Linked DNA regions of Homo sapiens: all the other regions are linked to region 6. Evidence: promoter capture Hi-C in 16 types of primary human blood cells and fetal thymus (Javierre and others, 2016). All regions are on one chromosome and are shown on one strand. The core of a region is centred on a gene start or on the middle of the fragment in contact, and the rest is flanking DNA. Distances in the headings are between cores, read along the strand shown.

Region 1 (2,844 bases), core at 231-2,730, 1.2 Mb before region 6:
GCCCGCGAGGCTCCGTCTCCCCGGCGCGGCCCGCTCGCCGTCCGGCTCGCTCAGGGCCTGGGCAGACGCGGCCCGCCCGAGCTACCGCGGGTTCCGAGACGCCTTCGCACTGCTCCTCCACCCGGGGGATCTTTGTTCCCGGAGCTGTTCCCCGCCTCGCTGCTCCCGCCGCAAAACCTGTTTGCGGAATACCCGCCGCAAGTCTGACTTGACGATGTGCAGTTTTGGGGTGCGCCAGTTGTGGGGGCATTCATAGAGGCAGCGAAGGGACCCCTAAGTTTAAACACCCGGGGAAGGATAAAGGAAGAGCGTCGGGCCCCCCTCCTCCCAACAGCGCTCGGGCGCGAACGGCGCCCTCCCGCGCTGCCGGCTCGCGCGGGCTCCGCAGGGCGCGCTGGCGGCGGCGGCGGGGCGGGGCGCGGCAGGCGGGCCCGGGGCCTGCACGTGGTGGCGATCTTTCTTCCCACCCGGCCAGGTCCCCGGGGACCACCGCGCTCAGGGGGAGGAGGAATGCCGTTCCCGGGCCCCGCTCCGGAGAGGGGTTTTACCCTCTGGGATCCCGGAATTGGAGGTGGAGAAGAGAGGAAGCAAGGGAGGGCGCGGCGTGGCGCGAGCGTTTCCTGCGCGGGGACTGCGGGGTGGCAGCTGGAGGCCACTGCAGGGGCAGAGCGGCGGGTTGGGGGAGCGACCGACCCATGGGGAGGGAAACCCGGTAGGGGGAGCAGGGAGCCGGAAAGCAGGGTTGATACATACCTGGGTGGGCGGGCTGGAAATGCCTTCCCTGGGCGCGCCGCGCAAGGCCGGCGGAGCGGGCTCCGGGTGGTCGCGGACCGGGACTGGGGAGAGCAGAGCCGCACTTGGCCAGGCGCGTGGCTGAGTGGTGTTTACATTCTGCAGCCACTCCACGTTGTGCTGCCGCCCGTGCCTCCCATTGGCCAGCTCTTCAGCCAACGCTTTGCTCCTCCCCGAGGGGCGGGCCCTCGGGTCCCCGCGTCGCTCAGGAAAGACCTGGGTTCCCTGAGGCCTTGGCGGGACAGCTAGGGCGCGCCCCTGGACGGTCACTTCCCAGCCACCCTATGGTCGCCCGAGTCGTGTCCCCCTGTTATGCGCCCGGGCTGAGCCGCAGGCTGACACCCCCGAAATCCAGGAGTTGCAGTGGGAGGAAGCAAAAGCAAACTGGCGGGAGATGCGCGAGCCAGGCGGCGGGGAGAACAGCCGCGGAGAAGGAGCCCCTGAGAGTTTCCCTACCGCCGCCGGCCGCGCCGTGGAGCGCGGTGGACGCGGGCAGAAGGCCCGGTAGAGTGGACCCCACGGCCGCTCCGGGTGGCGGGCGCGCACTGAGAGCAGGGCGCGGCGCGCGGGCACGCGGGCGGACGGGCGGGAGAGGGGAGCGCGCTGTCCGGAGGTGTCAGTCTGAGGCGCATGCGTGCGGGGCGGGACCGGCCCGGCCTATATATTGGGTTGGCGCCGGCGCCAGCTGAGCCGAGCGGTAGCTGGTCTGGCGGTGAGGAGTTGCTGCGCGTAGGGGGGATGTGGGAGGAAAGAAAGCCCAGTTGGGCCGATCACTTACCACAGGCGGGAGCCTCAGGGAGGAAAATCGGGAGGGCTGAGAACTAGACGACTGGGGGTCATGGGTTCCCGCGTTCCGTCCCTGTCAGGAACCTTGGCAGGGGACCGGGAAGCGGCTGGGCATGGAGAGCCGCCCCTCATTCTAGGGGCTTCTCTATCCCACCCTCATTTGGGGAGCTATCCCGTGGGAGAGAGGATGGGAGGCCGGGTCCCCTCCATGGGGAGAAAAGTTCCCAGCCAGCCCAGTCTCCCCTTTCTTTAGCTCCTTTTCCTGCCCTCCCCCACGCCCTCCGCTTCCCATCTGGAGTTGGGGTCCCGGCGCCCCTCCGAGCGGCGGTAGGGCGGCAGGGCCGGGAAGGAGGGAAAGGAGACTGGAGGCCGTGACACCAGTCTTGGTTCCTCCGCCCCCTGCTTCCCCGCCACCGCCGCTCTCCAAATTGGCGCGGAACCGGCTTCTCCACAGCATTTCGCCTCCACAACCCCCTCTCCCCGCTGGTCCAGGAGGGAGGCGGGACGTGGGGGCGCTGCCCAAGCCCCACTCCCGGTGTACGGGGGAGAGGGTGGAGGACCCAGAAAAACCCGTTTGAGGAAGATGTGCCTCCCTGCGCGTTCAAGGTGTCAGGAGTGCTTGGTAAATTTTTGGACACTCGCGTTCCAGCTGTACATTCAGTTGAGGAAATGCAGGCTTGTATCCAAAATGAATTACCATGAGCTAGCTAACATAGCACAGAAGATGGCAGGGTCACAGGGCCCAGGCCCCCTTCGGAGGGACTGAGCTTTCACCTGCGAATCAGCGTCTTACTGGCACTTGGAGAATGTGAATGACAATGTACTTGACTGCGGCTTTTCCTCTCCCCCCTTCAGAGGTTTTATACACCTGAAAGAAGAGAATGTCAAGACGAAGGTAACATTATCTGTCTTAGAGACATGTTTCAAATTAGTTGCTGCCTTTAACTTACTAATTACACTTCCTTTTTAAAAATTCACTACAGTAGCCGTTTACAAGCTAAGCAGCAGCCCCAGCCCAGCCAGACGGAATCCCCCCAAGAAGCCCAGATAATCCAGGCCAAGAAGAGGAAAACTACCCAGGTGATTTAAGGAGAAAGAGGGAGGAACGAAATTCCATGCTGGGACTTTAGTTTACCAATGGTCTTTTCTATTTTCCAGGATGTCAAAAAAAGAAGAGAGGAGGTCACCAAGAAACATCAGTATGAAATTAGGGTAATGCAGAACTGGGCTGGGTGGGTTTGGGGGAAAAATGGAGGATAGATGAAT
Region 2 (2,700 bases), core at 45-2,544, 1.2 Mb before region 6:
CAAGTCTGTGAGACTATCTAGAACACAGTTTTAGCTCTTTCTCCCAAGATAAGGTCCAATGACCATCATATTTTGATCATTACTCCTTGGTGTCTGACAACTCCCTGCACTGCAATTTACATCCTTTAAAACCAGCATTGTTGGAAATGGACTGACTACATTGTGAGGGTCAGAATGTGAGTGTCTTTCAGATACTGTAATGTGTGATAGGCATCCCTCCAGGGTTGCTATACAGCTCACCCCAGGTCAAAGAACTACATCCCAGTCCAAACAGTATCCACATGAGAGCTGATAGGCATCAACGTTACTCACCTGCCTTTGCCAGACAGTTAATCCACCTATATGTGGGACAGAGCCTTGGTCTGGAAAACACTTTCAAGCCCACTGTCTCACTCTCTTGTCACTATAAATAACCTGGTGAGTTGGCAGTCCCGGCGTGAATGCCCACAATTTGCAGGTATGCAAACAGAACAGAGGGGCTAAGTTCCGTGGGTCACATGAGAGCTAGGCTGCAGCGCCTGGGGAGGCGGCCGTTCCCGCCCGGTGCGCTTGTTGTCCGCTGGAGCAGAGGCCCCCGAGCCTGCTGACCTCTCTGCCTTCAGGCCTGGTCTCGCAGTCCCTTGTGCCTCGCCTATAGGCAGGCGGAATCCAGAGCGTGCAGCAAGCCCGGCCGGCTCTCGGTGGCGGTTTCTACAGCAGGTGGGGCCTGGCTCCGTGATTGAGCGGCCTCTACCCCTCTATCTGGGGCCCAGCAGCGGCCCCCTCCCAGCACCCTGGCTACACGTCTAACCCTAGGCTGACCAGGTGGGGCTCTCGGAGGCGTTAGCCCCAGCCCTCCCAGGAGTCTTAATGTTCCTCTCACAGGAAAAAACGTTCTGCGCCCTTTGTGCCCCAAACCCTCGACCCTTCACTCGGCGAGAGGGGTCGCTGAGGGAGAGATCCACCTCTGCCCTTCCCGTTGCCCGCCGGTTCTTCCTCGCCCGCCTCTTACGCACCCCGCTCCCGCCGGCTCCTGGAAAGCCGGCCCCGGCCCCAGCGCTTCCCTCCCCGGCCTAGCCCCTCTCTCCCACCCTTCCGCTCGCCCAGGCCTTCACGCTCAGCTCCCGGTTTTTGTTGCCCGGGCTTGTTTCGGAGCTGAGCGCGCCGCCGGCCGGGCGCCAGGTCACGTGCGTTGGTGACAACCTCTCGCAGGGCGGCCCCGGGGCCCCCGCACCGCCGATTGGTGGGGCCCGGCCTGGCGCGGCCCGGGGCGGGGCAGCGGGGCCCGACGGCGAGCGGAGCGGCCGATCAGCTGTTGCGAGCGCTGCACAACAACAAAAGGACTTGGACTGGCCGGCCTGGGCGCAGCGACCCGAGGGCTGGAGCCGGCCCCGCGCCTGCCGTCTGGGTACCTGAACGAGGTGCAGCGCAGCCCGGCCCCACCGCAGCTACCTCAGCAGTCCCGCCCCGCCCGCGTCCTTCCCCGCCGAGCCGGCGGCCGCTCCCTTCCCCGCGCAGCCCCGCACGGCCCGGGCCCACGTAAGTGCCGGGGGGGGGCGGGCGGGCGTCCGTCCAGGGCCGCCTCGCTGCCGGTTGGGGCCGCAGCGCTGCCCGCTCCTGAGCCCGGCGGGGCCGGCCGCGCGCCCTGCCTTCGGGGCGCCGGTTGCGCGTTCACCGAGCCCCCTCGCTGCCTCCCCTCGCCGCCGCCGGGCCCGGCCGCCCACCCAGTGGGTCGGTCCTCGGCGGCCCCCGGGGCCCAGGGCGCGGACAGAGGCTGACAGAGGCGGCGGCGGCGCGGACAAGGGCCCGGCCTGGCCCCGGCGCTGGGCGGCGGTTGGGAGTTTGGTCTCTGCCTCCTCCCCCGAGCGTGGCTTGTTTTCTTGGCCGCGGCGGGACCTCCTCCTCTCACCCCTCCTCACTCCCCTCCACTCCTCCTCCTCCGCCTGCTCTCGGCCGTTGGATGGGGCCGCCCCTTCGGGACTCGGCGTCGGGGCTCCCGCGGCCACCCCCGGGACGCATCTCCGAAGACAGCGGCGCTTGGGCTTGTGGCCCGGCGCTCTGTCCCCGCCCTGCGATCCCGTCCCCTGCGCCTGCCCTCCGAGTTCCGGAGGCCCTGCGGCTATGGGGAACCTGCTCCGTGACCCGGCCACCGGCCCCCGCCTGTCCGCGGCCTGTCCCTTGCTTGACCTGGCTTGAACTCAGTCTTCGCTACCTGACTTTGCACCTGTGGAAAGAGCGCTCTCCTTGGCCCTTAACATTTAGATCCTTTGGATCGCTCACGCTTACTGAGCGCTGAGTATGTGCCATATACTATGCTGGGGGCTTTGCTTTATCGCCCCAGTTGATTCTCATAATAACCTTATATGAAATAGGCCCGGCTATCTTACACATAGGAAACCCGAGGCACAGAGAGATTAAGTTGCTCAAGGCCACACAGCCAATTAATAAAAGGAAATGGTGTTTGTATTTCAAAGTGGCAGCTGAATTTTACCTGGAGAGTCTGTTTTGCTTGTATTTTCTGATTATATCTGCTCAGTAGGTTAATTCCAATACAGAGTGGATTAAGGAAGAGCCTCTTTACAACTGTGACTCCCAAGGACTTGGGCATCTATTGCTAAAAAAGCCTTTTCTCAATGCACAATAGTTTTGGGAAAAGGGGGAACAATGTGACCCTTGGGGTCACTGAACAGAAGTCATAATGAGTTCCCCCACGATACTGAA
Region 3 (2,700 bases), core at 171-2,670, 1.4 Mb before region 6:
GGTACACAAGACTATTCCCCCAGAGAGGAAATAATGGAGCCTAGGCCAGAGGAGGCAAGGTCAGGAGAAGGCATAGTGATAAGAAGTCTGGTAAGATAGGGATGAGACAAACTGCAAAAGAAAGCAACCATCAGATAGAAGAGTTTACACTTTATTACACAGGCCATGGGAAGACAAAGGTTTTTAAATAGGAAAATATTAATCAGACACAGAAGCAGTACACGGGATGGACTGAAGAGAATATGAAGAAGCAAGACTGAAGACAAAGAAACCAGTCATATGAGGATTACAACAATCTCTAAATGAAAGGTAAGAAAAGCCTGAACCACAATAATTGGCAGATAACTGAGGCATAGCAGATAGGATTTAGGAAATAACTGAACACATGGATGAAAAAGGACTGTAAGATGACTTCAAAGGCTTAAGGGTAAGCCACTGGGCAGATGCTAGCTTTGTTTTAGGAGAGAGAAGAAATCAGTTTGGGACATGTTTATCTTGAAGTCCTCCAGGGCATCCACAAGACAAACACATCTGCGGGACAGAGATGCCAGGATGGGCAGGGAGCTCCAGGACAGAGAGATTTGGTAGTCACCCACCTAGAGATGCTGGCTGATGCTGGAAGAAAAACGAGAGCAGAGGACTAAACTTTGGGGAACCCCTAGTTTAGAAAGCAGGAGGAAAATTTAAGGGAAAAAAGAACGGGACACAAAGGAGCACAAAGCACCTTTTCAACCTGCTCTCATATGTTTCACAACTCTCAGAGACTAAATAACCTGCCAAAAGGTCACAATCAGCAGTGGGACACATGGGAAAAAAAAAAAAAAATCAAGGACTAATGGCAATGTGTAACAATAAAATATCTGAAATTTTTACCCACAAAAATTTAACCTGGAGAAATAAACTGGAGAAAGGGGGTGGAGGGGGTGTGGCACATAAAAAGTTTTCCCTCTGGCATTAACTCTAATAGTGAAAAATAAAACCTAAATTTCTAGCTGAGGAATAGTTAAATGTATCACAAAAAGCCATCATAAAAGAAAAAATTTACTACCTAAACTTTTAAAACTTCATAATTGGGGGAAGAACATTAAAGTAATATGGCAAAGGGTCAACATTTATTGATTGATTGACAGGACAGGGTCTTGCTTTGTCACCCAGGCTGGAGTGCAGTGGCACAATCTCAACTCACTGCAACCTCTACCTCCCAGTCTCAAGCGATCCTCCCACCTCAGCCTCCTGAGTAGTTGGGACTATAGGCATGCCACCCTGCCCAACTAATTTTTGTGTATTTTGTAGAGACGGGGTTTTGCCATGTTGCCCAGGCTGGTCTCAAACTCCTGGACTCGAGCAATCTGACCTGCCCATCTTGGCCTCACAAAGGGCTGGGATTACAGGTGTGAGCCACCGCACCCGGCCAACATTTGTAATATGCAAAGGGCTCCTGTAAATCCACAAGAAAAGAGGAAAATATCCCAACAGAAAAATAAGAAACAAATGTCAATTTTAAAAAAATGAAAATGACCAGTAAATTTAAAAAATGACACTCAGTCCCAATCAAATAAAAATTAAAATGATATTCATATATTACTCACCTAAGATGTGGTAAAAATGGACCCTTATATTCTTGACAATACTGTATATACACTGGAACAACTTTTCTAAATGCCATTTTGGCAATAGAAATGCTTTAGAAAGTTTATACAACAATTCTATTTCCAATAATACATACAAAAATTAAAAGTGTACAAAGTTGTTCACATGAAGTTCACTGTAGCTTTGTCTATAATATAGAAAAGCTGGAAACAACCTAAATATTTAACAATAGGAGACTAAATAAATTATGGCACATCCATTAATTTTTAGGCAGTTTTTTAGAAAACACAATATTTAATGTGAAATATTGTTAAAGCATTTTATTAAATAAAAGTTTCTAAATAGCACATATAGTATAAGCCTACTTGTTATTTAAAAGTGGCTGATATGCACCAAAAAGTCAGTAGTGGTTATCTCTAAGCACTAGACTAATAATATTTTGATACGCCTAATTATCTTATAATGAACACATTCTCTCATAGACAAAGCCTTTTAGTTTGGGAAGAAAATACAAAGAAGAATGTGTAGAAAAATATAAGTATAAAAAGTAAAATACAGTTATATGTACAAGTAATAAAAATGTGAGCAAAGAACACAAAAATCTTTCTTTTTCCCCAACTGTTGTTTAAATGAAACAAGTACAAAGAATTAAAAATAGTTCCACTTCTGAAAAAGGGGCGGGGGGGGGGGGAAGATGAAGAAGTTGGTGCAAAGAAGAAAATAGAAAATTCACATCATAAAATCTTAATCATTTTAGAAGGAAGTAAGGTCATCTGCTCAACATGTTTCGAGACTGGGGTTAGCAACCTGACTGGAGTGAAAAAGCAACAGAGAAAATAAGTCAACTTGGGGATAAGAAAAGGATTAGAAAGTAACTAGTATAAAGCAGGTAGAAAACAAGTATGTAATGATCACCAAAAGCGTGACTTTGGGGGAGAGTGTAGGGCAGGGACAAAGGTAGAAAACTGACCAGTTACACCCAGCAAAGGTCAAGGAGAGGAGGGACTATGTGGTCTAGTGAGTTCATGGTTAGAACATGAACTACAGAGTTCAAGGTTGAAAAGAGGGAAGACAACTAATGGCCTAGGAGGGACTGGAGGTGACAATAAG
Region 4 (2,870 bases), core at 112-2,611, 1.6 Mb after region 6:
GTTCCAGCCTAGCCCTGGAGCAGGGAAATACAGTTTGCTGGATTCCTCCCTTCTTTGGGTGGTAGGGGCAGATTTGGGCATGCAGGCGACTTCTAGCCTGCCTCTCATTCCCAGATAGCCTTAGGGTAGCTCTCCCCCACTTTCTGGCCCCATCCTGGGGTCTGAGCCCCCGCCCCCTCCTCCATCCCTCCTTCCCTCCTGCCTGTGTCTCTCCTTCCCTCCTGCCTGTCCCTTTCTGTCTTCTCTCTCTCTCTCCCACTTTTCCTCCCTCTCCCGCTCCGTCTCACACGCACCCTCTGTTTATTTTCCTGCCTCCATCTGGGCCCTGCTGATATTGTAATCACCCTGATGCACGTTGGCTTCTCTCCTCTCCCTCCTGCGCTCACACACTCACTCACACACAATGTGCCATCCTGACAAGGCTTTTACTTCTGATAAGCTCCAATGTGTGTTTAATGAATACAAAGCCGCGGTCTGGGTGCCGCCTCGGCCGCGGCCGCTCTCCCGCGCTCCTTTGCCAGAAGGTAATCTCCGTGAACAGGGGAGGGAGGCGAGCAGGGAGGAAGGAGGGGTGGCCAGGAGGAAGGGGGGCGTGGGGAGGCGGCTTTTCTCTCTCCCTCTCTCCCTTTCCAAATGATTCAGAAGTCGATAAGACCAGGAGAAGTGAAGATGTAACATGTTATCTGTCGCTCCTCTTAGCTGGCGGAGAGAATTTACATTTAAAGATTAGCAGAGTGAGAAAGAGAAATCTGCCTTTTGTTGTGTGGGGTGAGGAGGAGGCATCTACCCCTGGCCTTGACGCTATCTCCCATCACCTCTGCTATCCAGACAGGACTCACCGAGGTGAGAATACCGGAGGGCCTTATCTTTAATTGGGTTTAGTTTTGCCAGTCTGAATAGGTTTAAAGAGACTCGATAAAGGGGGAACAATAGATTATTTATTGACTGGACGCTGAAGCCTTTAGATGAAGAAGGGAGAGACAAAGCTGCTTAACAACTTGATTAGTTCATTTTTATTTTAAGGTGAGACTGTCTCTCTTTTGGTGGAAGGAAGGGCTAGAGAACTTTGGTGCAATTTGAATGACTTAAAATGTCTTATTTCCTCTCCCGACAACCCCCTACCCTTCTCAGCACCATGCACCTCCCTGATTTAACAGGAGTTTCGTTTACCCCTTGCATTTAGGATTGATGAACTGAGAAAAGAGGGTAAAGGCTTTGGGATTGATCATTAATGTTTGGTTTTGTGTGACTTGTTTTAAATGCGTGATAAATTGATGCTGACGGTACTTGAATGAGTAAGAAAAGCAAATGAAGCCTACTTTTAATATGGAATTAGTTGACTTTATAGTATGGCTCAACTCAGCCTAGAGGAGAAAAAAAAATCACTACAAGTCTGTTAGGTAGATTTGTATTTTGGATTTGAACCATGAAATCTTTTGGTTGGAGCTAGTTTAAAAAAAGGAGAAAACATGTCTTATTGACTCACAAGTATTTGAAACATTGTAATATCAACTTTAGAAGGTTCTTAAAATGAAGAAAAGTGGAAAAGATGGTTGTTTTGCCTTCTACACATTGTCAAAATAGGTGTTTTCATAGATAGATAGATATGATCCAGTAACTAAAAGCCTAATTAAAATTTGTTTAAAGCCAGGGGGGCATGTTTCCTTGTTGACAGCAGCAGATCGATTGGGTAAGACAATAGAGTCCCATTATTTTACTTCCATTGACTGAACATATTGACATTTCAGGTTTGCTGTTGCCTCAGTGAGCATGATGAAACACTGAAATTCACAGACCAACTGGCCAGAGTGGCACATATATTACTGTATGTCATTTCTGCCTTCAGGTTACCTTATCACCCAGACAGAATGGAAAAGGACAGCCTGGAATCTTTCAGAAAGGGTAGAGCTCTTTTGGCTAAGAAACTAGCAGATAGCATGTCTTAGGAACATCTTTAATTCTACCCCGAATTGGATGTTACAGAGAAATAGGTGGAGCACGTTTAAAAATATGAAAAGCATGCTAGCCATAGATCTTGCATATTTTATATAGAAGGATATCCATTTTCAAGATTTACCTTTACCTGGAGTTATTTACAGTGAGTGGTCAGTCACTATTTAGGTGACCAGTTTGTTGCATGAGTGACATTCATTCTTTTCCAGTCGGGTACTGAAACAGCCAGGCACCTGCTAAATCTATATCTCATAAAATAATGTGTAAGTTCCCTTCAAAAATAGGGCCTGACTCTGACTTTTTGTTTCCAGTTTTCTTTTAGTGGGTGGAATACACTTGATCTTAGCCAAAAGGCCGAGAAGCGATAATGGGTTCAATACAAAGTGAGATGTATGTATTTTACACTCAAGTGCATGCATAGACAATAACTTATATAGATTAATATGTGTATTTCAAGCAAAGGCAGAGAAATACTAAGTATTTGTTATCTTGGTGTAATTTACCCTTTCACACATTTTGCATAGTCTTTAAATAACAAAACTAAGCATTAGGCAGACATTGAGTCAAAGAAATTTGAACCATACAGAGAGTGAATATGAAAAAAAAAACCAGAAGGGACTTAACATATTTTTATGTTAAAGAAATTTATGAAAATATAAATCTATTTTGACTATGACTTATACATGACAATTGTTGCCATCAAGTAGGCAACTGATGCCCTTTACAGTGTTTAGAACAAAACTAGTCCTTTATACAATTTTCATGAAAATGTTAGGTTTCTGTTTGATCAGCAGGTGCTGTTGAGATGAAAGCCATGTGTAAATTTTCAGAAGGCCAAAAGTGTCAATTCAGAAAAGGAAAGTGATAAGAGAAAATGCAATCAGTTTTCCTGTTTTCAATTTGTGCGGGATTTGAAG
Region 5 (2,790 bases), core at 141-2,640, 1.3 Mb before region 6:
GTGTTATATGCAGTCCGTCCATGATGTGGCCTCAATTTACCTTTCTGCCTCAACTCTGGCCACTTGCCTTTGTGACTCCAAGTTAATGTTTTTGTTTAAACCCAAGGTAAAGCACCTTGTCCTCTGGCCCTAAGAACTCTAACCAATTCATGCAACTTTGGTTTTTACTCTCTGAAATTACCTTTCTTCATCCTGTGTAGTAGCAGAACCCCGGTGGTGGGTGTTACCCTTTCATCACCAGTGACTGGTCCAGGACAGTGCATATTTCCCTGATCTGGCCAATTAGACTTGAGAACAAGTCCACTGTGGTGCTTCTGGGAAAGTTGCTTCACTAATAAAAGGAAACATAAAATTCAATATACTACATATGAAATATTCTTGGCAAAAAGGCTTAACATAAAGTTAATTAAGCTTCTAAATCTAATTTTAAAGTTTATAAGAAAAAGACAAGAAACAAGATAAATCGACACCACAGGGAAACAAATCAGAAAAATTCGAAAGAAAAACCCAATGTCACTCCTGCGATTAGGTTATAAAAGGTCTGCACCTTCCATATTTCATCTTGGGTGCTCTCTCTCTCTCTCTCATCACTTACTCTGTGGGAAGCTAGCTGCCATGACACGTGAGGGGGATTAGTCCTTTGTCTGTAATATAGATCATTATTATTTTCCTCAGTTAGGTTTTAGTTTTGTCTTTGCTTGTGGAATCTTTGCCATGCAGAAATTTTGCAATATATTTTTATCTAGTCAAATTTACAATATTTACTTTTATGGCTTCTGGATTTTGCAGTCTTTAAAAAGGCCTTCCCCATTTTAAATGTGTTAAAAGAATCCCTTGCTTTCTTCTAGTCCTTCTGGTTTCTCTCGTACTACTTGTAGATTTCACTTTTTTACATTTCTTTTTTTTTTTTTTGGAGGGGTAAAGATTAGGAAGGTATGAATCTAACTTTTTTCTTTATATCTAGTAGTTGTCTTACTATCATTTATTCAGTAGTCCACCTTTTCCTCCTTTGATTTGAGATGCTTCCTTTTTCACAGAATAAACTCATGCATATACTTTGTGTCTATAGTGTTCCATTTGTCTATTAATGTTCTAGTAGTAAACTCTTTTAACTATTGCGTCTTTAAAATATGTTTTCATAGATATCTAGTAGGGCTAGTCCTTCTTCATTACTCTTTTTCTCTTCCCCGGTCTTCCTGGCCATTCTTGTTTATTTTCCCATTTGGCTTTTAGGATCAGCCATTCGATTAAAATAATTCTGAAGGTATTTTCATTACAGCTATGTTAAATTTATACCTAATGTATGGAAAACTGGTATTTTTATTATATTGAACCTTCATAAACATTTTTAATTACAGCATTATAGTTCATCTTATCAACAGATATAACACATTAACTATGCCCTTATTCAATCCTTATATTTTCCACAATTAAATACTTTTTAGATGAACCACTACTAAAAAGGAAAAACAATTTTTCTATACTTATGCAACCCTTCTGACACTACATGTATAGATCTTCCACACCAAGCATTTTCAGGACTACACAGTTAGGACAGAATCCACAGGTTCAGAGTTCAGTCTCACAAGGCTGCCCCCTACTTTGGACACCAGTAGCAATTAGTGAGTCCTTAGGTTACCCATGCTTTTGTTTGACTTGGCTACAAATCAAGGATTTTCAGGACCTTCCTCCTCAGGTTTGATAATTTGCTATGATGGCTCCCAGATATCAGGGAAACACTTATATATATTTACTGGTTTATTATAAAGGATATAGATAAAGGTCAAAGAACAAATATAACACATTTATAACAAAAGATGCTGTCCCTTAATGGTCCAGAGAACATGTTTCTGACTTCCTGCCAAAAGGACACATACTGAGTTTTTTTCTTAGAATGACAGTGACTTGTGAGGAGCTGTTCTATGCACATACTGCCTCCTGATTCGTCTAGCAACCAGTAGCACGTGCCAAGAAGGGAAAAGGCTCACAGAGTTGGAAATATAGTCTGTTGCCTTGGGATAGTGTTTCTGGACAAAACATTCTTCTAGGGAAATAAGAAATTTCATCCTAGCTGATCCACAATTCTATTGCATAACTGAAGGTCACACCTGGTGCTAAGTTAAATGTTTGTCACTAAAGAGATTTCCATTTGGCAAACAAAATATTGTGGGATTATGCTGTTCCCTCTTTCTGGATTGTCCTTGTGTGCTGTATCTTCAAGGAGGCCATTTGGTGATAATCCCAAATCCCCAGCCTTTAACCAGCCACCTACGGCCTCTACAGACTCCCAAGAGAGCTACACAGAGGACAGTCCTGGCAAATGGGCAATGTTTATTACACTGTTTTTACAAACCCCACTGCTAAGCTTGTCTGGATCACTTCAAAGGCAAAAAGACATGTAGAAAGACAAACCCAACAAAAATGGTGTGATTCAAGACCTAAATCAAAGTAAGCCGCAACCCAAGGCTTTCCTGAGATTTGGGGTTATAGGAGGAGAGCTCTAAGTTTGTCCTTGTCACCACAAAAGTTCTAATGCCCTTTTTCCCTTTCATGAACCTCTACTCATCCCCCAAACACCTAATTAAACACCTCTTCCTTCCTGAATTTTCCTTGACCATAACCCCATCCAAGAAAAAAAGAGTTGTTCCCCCAGTTTTGATCCTATAACAATTTGTGTTCATGTTTGATCACTTTGCCAGGTCTTACTGTGGTGATCTGCTTATATGGCCCTCTTCCCAGACTGCCAAAGGTAGATGTTTTCTTACTCCTCTTTTTATCTCCAGTGCCTGG
Region 6 (2,763 bases), core at 137-2,636:
TTTCGCTTTTTGGGCGGGCTGGTCTCGAACTACTGACCTCAAGTGATTCGCCCGCTTCGGCCTCCCAAAGTGCTGGGATTACAGACGTGAGCCACCGTGCCCGGCCACAGGAGCTTTTTAGAAGATGTTTTACGCCACACAGTAATGCAACACTGAAAAGACAAGTCGCCTTTTCTCTGCTTTTGCATCTCTTTCCTTAACTTCTGGAAATCTTTAAAGTTTGTCCGCCGTACTTCGACAGTTGTCTACCGAAGATTCTCAGCACATCTACCGGCTGAGCCCTGAATGTGTCTCTGAATTTCTCCCGTTGAAAGTCGAGGTCCCTGGGCTGGGCAGAATCTGGGCATGCGCAGAAGCTCAGCCAACCCCGGGGCTCCGCCTCCCCTCCTCTAGCGAGGGGAAACGGGTGAGCGGCAGCGCGCGTGCGCAAGCTTGGTGGTGGGTTGCGCCTGCAGAGCGCATGGGCAGATAAACCGTACGTCCGTTTGTCCGGACCGGAGGGGCAGTGGGCGCCATCTTCTTCTGGGCTCACTGAGGGTCTACCTGTTTTGGGGAGGCTGCTGCGACGAAGAGTTCCCTCAGCCTCCGGCCTTGTGTGTCCGACTCGGCAGCAGTGGTGTGTGTTTATTGCCAAGTGCGAAGCAGTTCCCCTCGGGGCGCCGGGGGTGGGGAGGGCTGGGCGACCAAGCCGGAAGAACGGGGAAAGGCGGGACCGGCGGCCGCGCCAGTATCTAGCGTAGCTCCTGCCGTTAGGGCACCCTCTTTTCTTGCTAAAACACCGACTCTTCCTTTCCCGTCAGCTTCCATGTGGTGGTGTATGTGCGCTTCCCAGGGATCTTGAGAGTGAAGATCTCGAAGGATTTCATAGGTATATTTTTTTCTTTGCTATGTCATCGTAGTCAGTGGTGGCAGAAAAGCGCTGCAGGCCCAGCTCGTTAGGCTTGAGAAGGGCAAGTGTTTTCAGTTAGATCTGGGGGCAGTTCACCCTCTGGCGAGTTAGGGTGGAATGTTTGCCCTTGAGACGGCGTAACGGAAAGGCACGGAGGTTGGGCGGTCCAGGTTAATTTGAAGGCTGATTTTGGCTGAAAGTCTGGCGACAACATCGGATCCCACGTAGCAACTTTGGCCTGGCGCGAAAGAAGGAAGCTCTGACCCCTGGGAGTTGTGGACAAAGGCTTTGGGCTGTAGAATCGATGCCTTCGGATGATTCCCGTTTGAGGATGTTGGGAGAAATCCTGTGCCATGTGGATTCGTCTTCATTTACAGTTCTTCCTAGGGACTGTGGCTCTCATTGGTCATTCCTTTGGTTTTTATTTTAAACATCTACATTATAAAAGGTGGATCATCGTAAAGAATAATTATGGGTTGGTGTAGATTATTTTCTGCAGGGGAAACTCACGTTTAGAGTGTGAATATGCTACATCATGACCTTGGGCTTTACGAAGTAGTCGCAGAGTTAAAAAAAATTCTCTCCCTCACCATATCTGGAAAATGACTTTTTCTTCGCTAGTTAAAAATCAAATGGATCTGATGAGATATTACTTATTTAAATTCTGTCTCCCTCCCGTTTCCCTCTCTGTATCCCCTTAAGTCTTGATTAGAAGAGGCACGTTACGTATTGTTTAGTTATAATGGTGATTAAGTGGGATGAATCGTTGGATAAAAATAGCAGTTATTTAAAATGCGCTTTAAATTTCACTGACTTAAGTGATCTTTTAGGGACCCACTCTTCTTTTCATAGAAATTTTAACAGATTATTGTCTTCAAATGAACACAAAGGCACAAAAATACTTTTTGCATTCATAACTAGAAAAACGCAAAATTTTAATTGCAGACTACTTGAGGGTAATTTTCGTGTTTTGCTTTTGTGTAATTTAGTGTGTTAAGAGTTGAATTTCTGGAGAATTTGCTTAAGGAAATATAGCATGTTGGAACCACAGAAGTGCCCATTTTGAGAGCTGGTCTCTTACAGTTGGTCTCCAAGGTGTGTTATTGTAGAGGCATAAATGGTACATTACCCTACTGTCTCAAGGGTAGAGAAGTTTAAGCATTAGTTTTGTTTAACTGTGGCAAATGAGAATAAACTTTCTAAATAGTCTGCTTGAATTGGAATTCATGAGATTTGTGCTCATGAAACTACTTGGTTAAAAGATAGTTTTTAAGTGAGGTAGGATAAATTACTAGAGTTTTTTTGAATTTGAGATATAATTATTCCTTGAAACGTCTCTAATTTCTCTTGTAGATGAATTTATGTTCCCAGGGTAAATCCCGTTAAAATTTTTTTAAAAGCTTAGGAGAGACAAGAATATGTATAGCTTATGGTGCTTTCTAAAATATCTTAAAAAGAGTAGCTAAGCCAATTTGCATAGGAGGGAGTCTTGGGACTTTAATATGGATAAAGTAAGTATTCCAGAAGCCATTTGTAGTTTTTGTTGAAGTGTTAGTATGGATATTGGTTTGTTGAAGAAAATAGGCTTTTTTTCTTTTTTTGTTACTGTGCAAATACTTTAATAGCAAACCTGATTAATATTTTTCAGATGTAGAATGTGTGAAGTAATTTGATGTCTTTGCTAGTTTAGCTTCTGGTTAATCTACGTACCCTTTTTTAAAGGAAAACAGACCTCAGTGAATGTATCTTCAGACCCCCACTTTGGGGAACAGTGGTACTTAAGTGTAAGTACTGGATTCTGGATTAACGCAACATTTATTTGTACATTAAAGACATGTAAATTACTCCAGGCGCAGTGGCTCATACCTGTAAAT
Region 7 (2,745 bases), core at 1-2,500, 1.5 Mb before region 6:
GAGAGTTGTGATTAGTCTAAACTCTCCACAGCTGTGAGAGATGAATGTACAAATTCCAATAAAGATTCTGCATGTTCTGGGCTGAATTTACCTACATGACATCGAGGCCTAATTCAGGGACCACTTAAAAGAACTGGAGCTGCTTCGGTGCTACTCCATTCTTCCATGGCATCAGCTGCTAGGAGGCTTGCAACTGATCCAGGAGGATGCCTCCCCTCATGCCAATGTCACCGCCCACCAGTGGGTATTTGTTTAAAAGGCCTGCAGTATGCAGGGGAAAGATGCAGGGAAGGGAAAATTAAACCTAAGTACATGGGAATTCAAAGAAGCCTTGCAATTCATTATGTGAGCAGCCAGGGAGATTACAGAACACCTTGTAACTGAAGCAGTTGGCCTGAGGCGGCGTGGGACAGCAGAACCAGCTGCCTCACCACCTCTAACTCATTTATAATGGTGCTAGCAAGAAACCAGGCTCAGAGAGTTCTTCAGATTCTTGGGAAAGCCAACAGTGCTTTGGTTTCCTAATTTGGACACCTTTTACCTAAAATACTTCCTTGAATACTAAGTGAATGTAATAATACATGACATGCCCCTTTACCATGTTTTTTGTTTTGTTTTTAAGACAGTCTCATTCTCTTACCCAGGCTAAAGTTCAGTGGCACTATCTCGGCTCACTGCGGCCTCCACCTCCTGAGCTCAAGCCATCCTCCCACCTCAGTCTACCACATACCTGGGACCACAGGTGCAGCGCTGCCATGCCTGGCTAATTTTTGTAATTTTTTTGTTAGAGACAGCGTTTTGCCATGTCACCTGGGCTGTCTCAAACTCCTGGGCTCAAGTGATCCGCTCGCCTTGGCCTCCCAAAGTACTGGGATTACAGGCATGAGCCACGGCACCCGGTCTCCTTTACCATGTTAATAATTGTATCACCTGGAGGCACTTGCCTATTCTTTACGAAATACCTGACACTCAGCATGCTTTCCATGACTGGGAAAGACAGGGGACAAGGATTCACGACATTGTCTACACACGTTAACAATTATGGAGAAAGAAATAAGATTGTTAGTTAAACAGAAAGTTATACCAAAGGAATTTATAGCCCGGTTTAAAAAAAAATGATCTAATAGGATTTGCCTGAATGTAGAATCTTCTAAAGCCACACTACCTTCATCTTATACATCCACATCCATTGTTTAGAGCCCACTGAATTTTTAACTGTATAACTTTCTTTCTGACATCTGGAGATTTTAATAGTGCACTGTAATTTTACAGTTTATCACACAGCCATACACATATGTTACTCTTATGTGACATATGGCATTTCTCCTTGTAGACTCTGAACTCAACCTTTCACTCTCGGTGGCAAACCAGAAAGAGAACATGACTCAAGTCAGGAGACCCACCGGAGAGTTGAATGAGCCATAAATGAAATTCTCAAAATACCAAACTCTGGATGATCCATACATCCATTTTATTAAAATGGGAGTGGGCAGGAATGGAAAACCAAGTATCATATGTTCTCACTCGTAAGTAGGAGTTAATTTATGGGTACACAAAGGCATACAGAGTGGCATAATGGACACTGGAGACTCAGAAGAGAGGAGGACGGGTGAGGGGTAAAGGATAGTAACACTATCTATTGGAGGCTGGGTGTGATGGCTCACGCCTGTAATCCCAGCACTTTGGGAGGCTGAGGCGGGCGGATCACCTGAGGTCAGGAGTTCGAGACCAGCCTGAACAGCATGGAGAAACCCTGTCTCTACTAAAAATACAAAATTAGCCCGGCATGGTGGCACATGCCTGTAATCCCAGCTACTTGGGAGGCTGAGGCAGGAGAATCACTTGAACCCAGGAAGCAGAGGTTGTGGTGAGCAGAGATCAAACCATTGCACACTCCAGCCTGGGCAGCAAGAGCAAAACTCCGTCTGGGAAAAAAAAAAAAAAAAAAAGAACACTACCTTTTGGGTATAATGTACACTACTCGGGTGACAGGTGCACTAAAATTTCAGACTTCACCACTATACAATTCATCCATGTAACCAAAAACCGCTTGTACCCCAAAAGCTACTGAAAGTAAATAAAATCAATAAAATGAAATTTTAAAATGTAAACGGAATAAATTATCCAATCAAAAGACCAGAAAAATGGGAGTAGAAGTGAGGGAGCGAGGGAACACACTAATTTTTTTCTAATATACACAAAAAACAAAACACAGAAAACCAGAAACATTTTCTCTTTTATTTTTTCACCATCTCTCATTGCAAATCTTCTACACGCTAATAGATTCTTTTTTTTTTTTTTTTTTTTTTTTGAGACGGAGTCTCGCTCTGTGGCCCAAGCTGGAGTGCTGTGGCGCGATCTTGGCTCACTGCAAGCTCCGCCTCCCGGGTTCACGCCATTCTCCTGCCTCAACCTCCCGAGTAGCTGCCAGTACAGGCGCCCGCCACCACGCTCAGCTAATTTTTTGTATTTTTAGTAAAGACGGGGTTTCACCGTGTTAGCCAGGATGGTCTCCATCTCCTGACCTCGTGATCCGCCCGCCTCGGCCTCCCAAAGTGCTGGGATTACAGGCGTGAGCCACCGCGCCCGGCCGCTAACAGATACTTTCAACATTGGTACAGATCCCCTCAGATTTCATCTTCTCAAGAGCAAAATCAAATCATTAATGTAAGCCTGTTAAACTGGATGGCCACTAACTATGACTTCCCCTGGAACCATGTTGCAAGGACCGCTTTTTCAAGCAGC

What was found. Contacts are between HindIII fragments. The CHiCAGO score rates a contact against its expected background, and 5 or more counts as called.
Region 1: a contact is called between the fragment with the promoter of CCNE2 here and the fragment with the promoter of RBM12B-AS1 in region 6, in 8 of 17 cell types (fetal thymus, total CD4 T cells, total B cells and 5 more). The highest score is 11.7, in fetal thymus.
Region 2: a contact is called between the fragment with the promoter of TP53INP1 here and the fragment with the promoter of RBM12B-AS1 in region 6, in 4 of 17 cell types (naive CD4 T cells, total CD8 T cells, non-activated CD4 T cells and 1 more). The highest score is 7.5, in naive CD4 T cells.
Region 3: a contact is called between a fragment that was not itself captured here and the fragment with the promoter of RBM12B-AS1 in region 6, in 1 of 17 cell types (naive CD8 T cells). The highest score is 6.5, in naive CD8 T cells.
Region 4: a contact is called between a fragment that was not itself captured here and the fragment with the promoter of RBM12B-AS1 in region 6, in 1 of 17 cell types (erythroblasts). The highest score is 6.8, in erythroblasts.
Region 5: a contact is called between a fragment that was not itself captured here and the fragment with the promoter of RBM12B-AS1 in region 6, in 1 of 17 cell types (total CD8 T cells). The highest score is 6.5, in total CD8 T cells.
Region 7: a contact is called between a fragment that was not itself captured here and the fragment with the promoter of RBM12B-AS1 in region 6, in 5 of 17 cell types (non-activated CD4 T cells, naive CD4 T cells, total CD8 T cells and 2 more). The highest score is 9.8, in non-activated CD4 T cells.

Annotation. Positions count from the first base shown.
Region 1 is chr8:94,893,837-94,896,680 of GRCh38, reverse strand. It overlaps CCNE2 (cyclin E2), which reads left to right and starts at 1,480. Exons shown (of 12, transcript NM_057749.3): 1 at 1,480-1,504; 2 at 2,434-2,473; 3 at 2,562-2,658; 4 at 2,737-2,790. The coding sequence starts at 2,460. It also overlaps a transcript of NDUFAF6 not described here. RefSeq lists silencers at 1-110, 391-440, 611-660, 791-890, 1,271-1,490 and an enhancer at 2,107-2,668. The HindIII fragment of the contact is 5,265 bases long and covers 1-2,844 here.
Region 2 is chr8:94,947,972-94,950,671 of GRCh38, reverse strand. It overlaps TP53INP1 (tumor protein p53 inducible nuclear protein 1), which reads left to right and starts at 1,294. Exons shown (of 4, transcript NM_033285.4): 1 at 1,294-1,518. It also overlaps a transcript of NDUFAF6 not described here. RefSeq lists enhancers at 439-488, 659-828, 695-1,324, 1,325-1,953 and silencers at 949-1,058, 1,139-1,518, 1,739-1,878. The HindIII fragment of the contact is 4,012 bases long and covers 1-2,700 here.
Region 3 is chr8:95,137,935-95,140,634 of GRCh38, reverse strand. The region is part of intron 1 of PLEKHF2 (pleckstrin homology and FYVE domain containing 2); the gene reads right to left. Among named protein-coding and RNA genes, the nearest start is that of PLEKHF2, 5.5 kb to the right of the region's middle. RefSeq lists an enhancer at 2,627-2,700. The HindIII fragment of the contact is 4,112 bases long and covers 1-2,700 here.
Region 4 is chr8:92,093,001-92,095,870 of GRCh38, reverse strand. The region is part of intron 1 of RUNX1T1 (RUNX1 partner transcriptional co-repressor 1); the gene reads left to right. Among named protein-coding and RNA genes, the nearest start is that of RUNX1T1, 8.9 kb to the left of the region's middle. The HindIII fragment of the contact is 4,219 bases long and covers 1-2,870 here.
Region 5 is chr8:95,020,711-95,023,500 of GRCh38, reverse strand. It overlaps a transcript of NDUFAF6 not described here. Among named protein-coding and RNA genes, the nearest start is that of NDUFAF6, 2.9 kb to the left of the region's middle. The HindIII fragment of the contact is 1,954 bases long and covers 414-2,367 here.
Region 6 is chr8:93,738,734-93,741,496 of GRCh38, reverse strand. RBM12B-AS1 (RBM12B antisense RNA 1) reads right to left here and starts at 1,386. Exons shown (of 1, transcript NR_027259.1): 1 at 678-1,386. RBM12B (RNA binding motif protein 12B) reads left to right here and starts at 488. Exons shown (of 4, transcript NM_001377960.1): 1 at 488-616; 2 at 801-868. RBM12B-DT (RBM12B divergent transcript) reads right to left here and starts at 414. Exons shown (of 2, transcript NR_183450.1): 1 at 38-414. RefSeq lists an enhancer at 462-581. The HindIII fragment of the contact is 1,858 bases long and covers 434-2,291 here.
Region 7 is chr8:95,271,362-95,274,106 of GRCh38, reverse strand. The region is part of intron 1 of CFAP418-AS1 (CFAP418 antisense RNA 1); the gene reads right to left. Among named protein-coding and RNA genes, the nearest start is that of TRS-AGA2-5, 3.0 kb to the right of the region's middle. The HindIII fragment of the contact is 4,275 bases long and covers 1-2,745 here.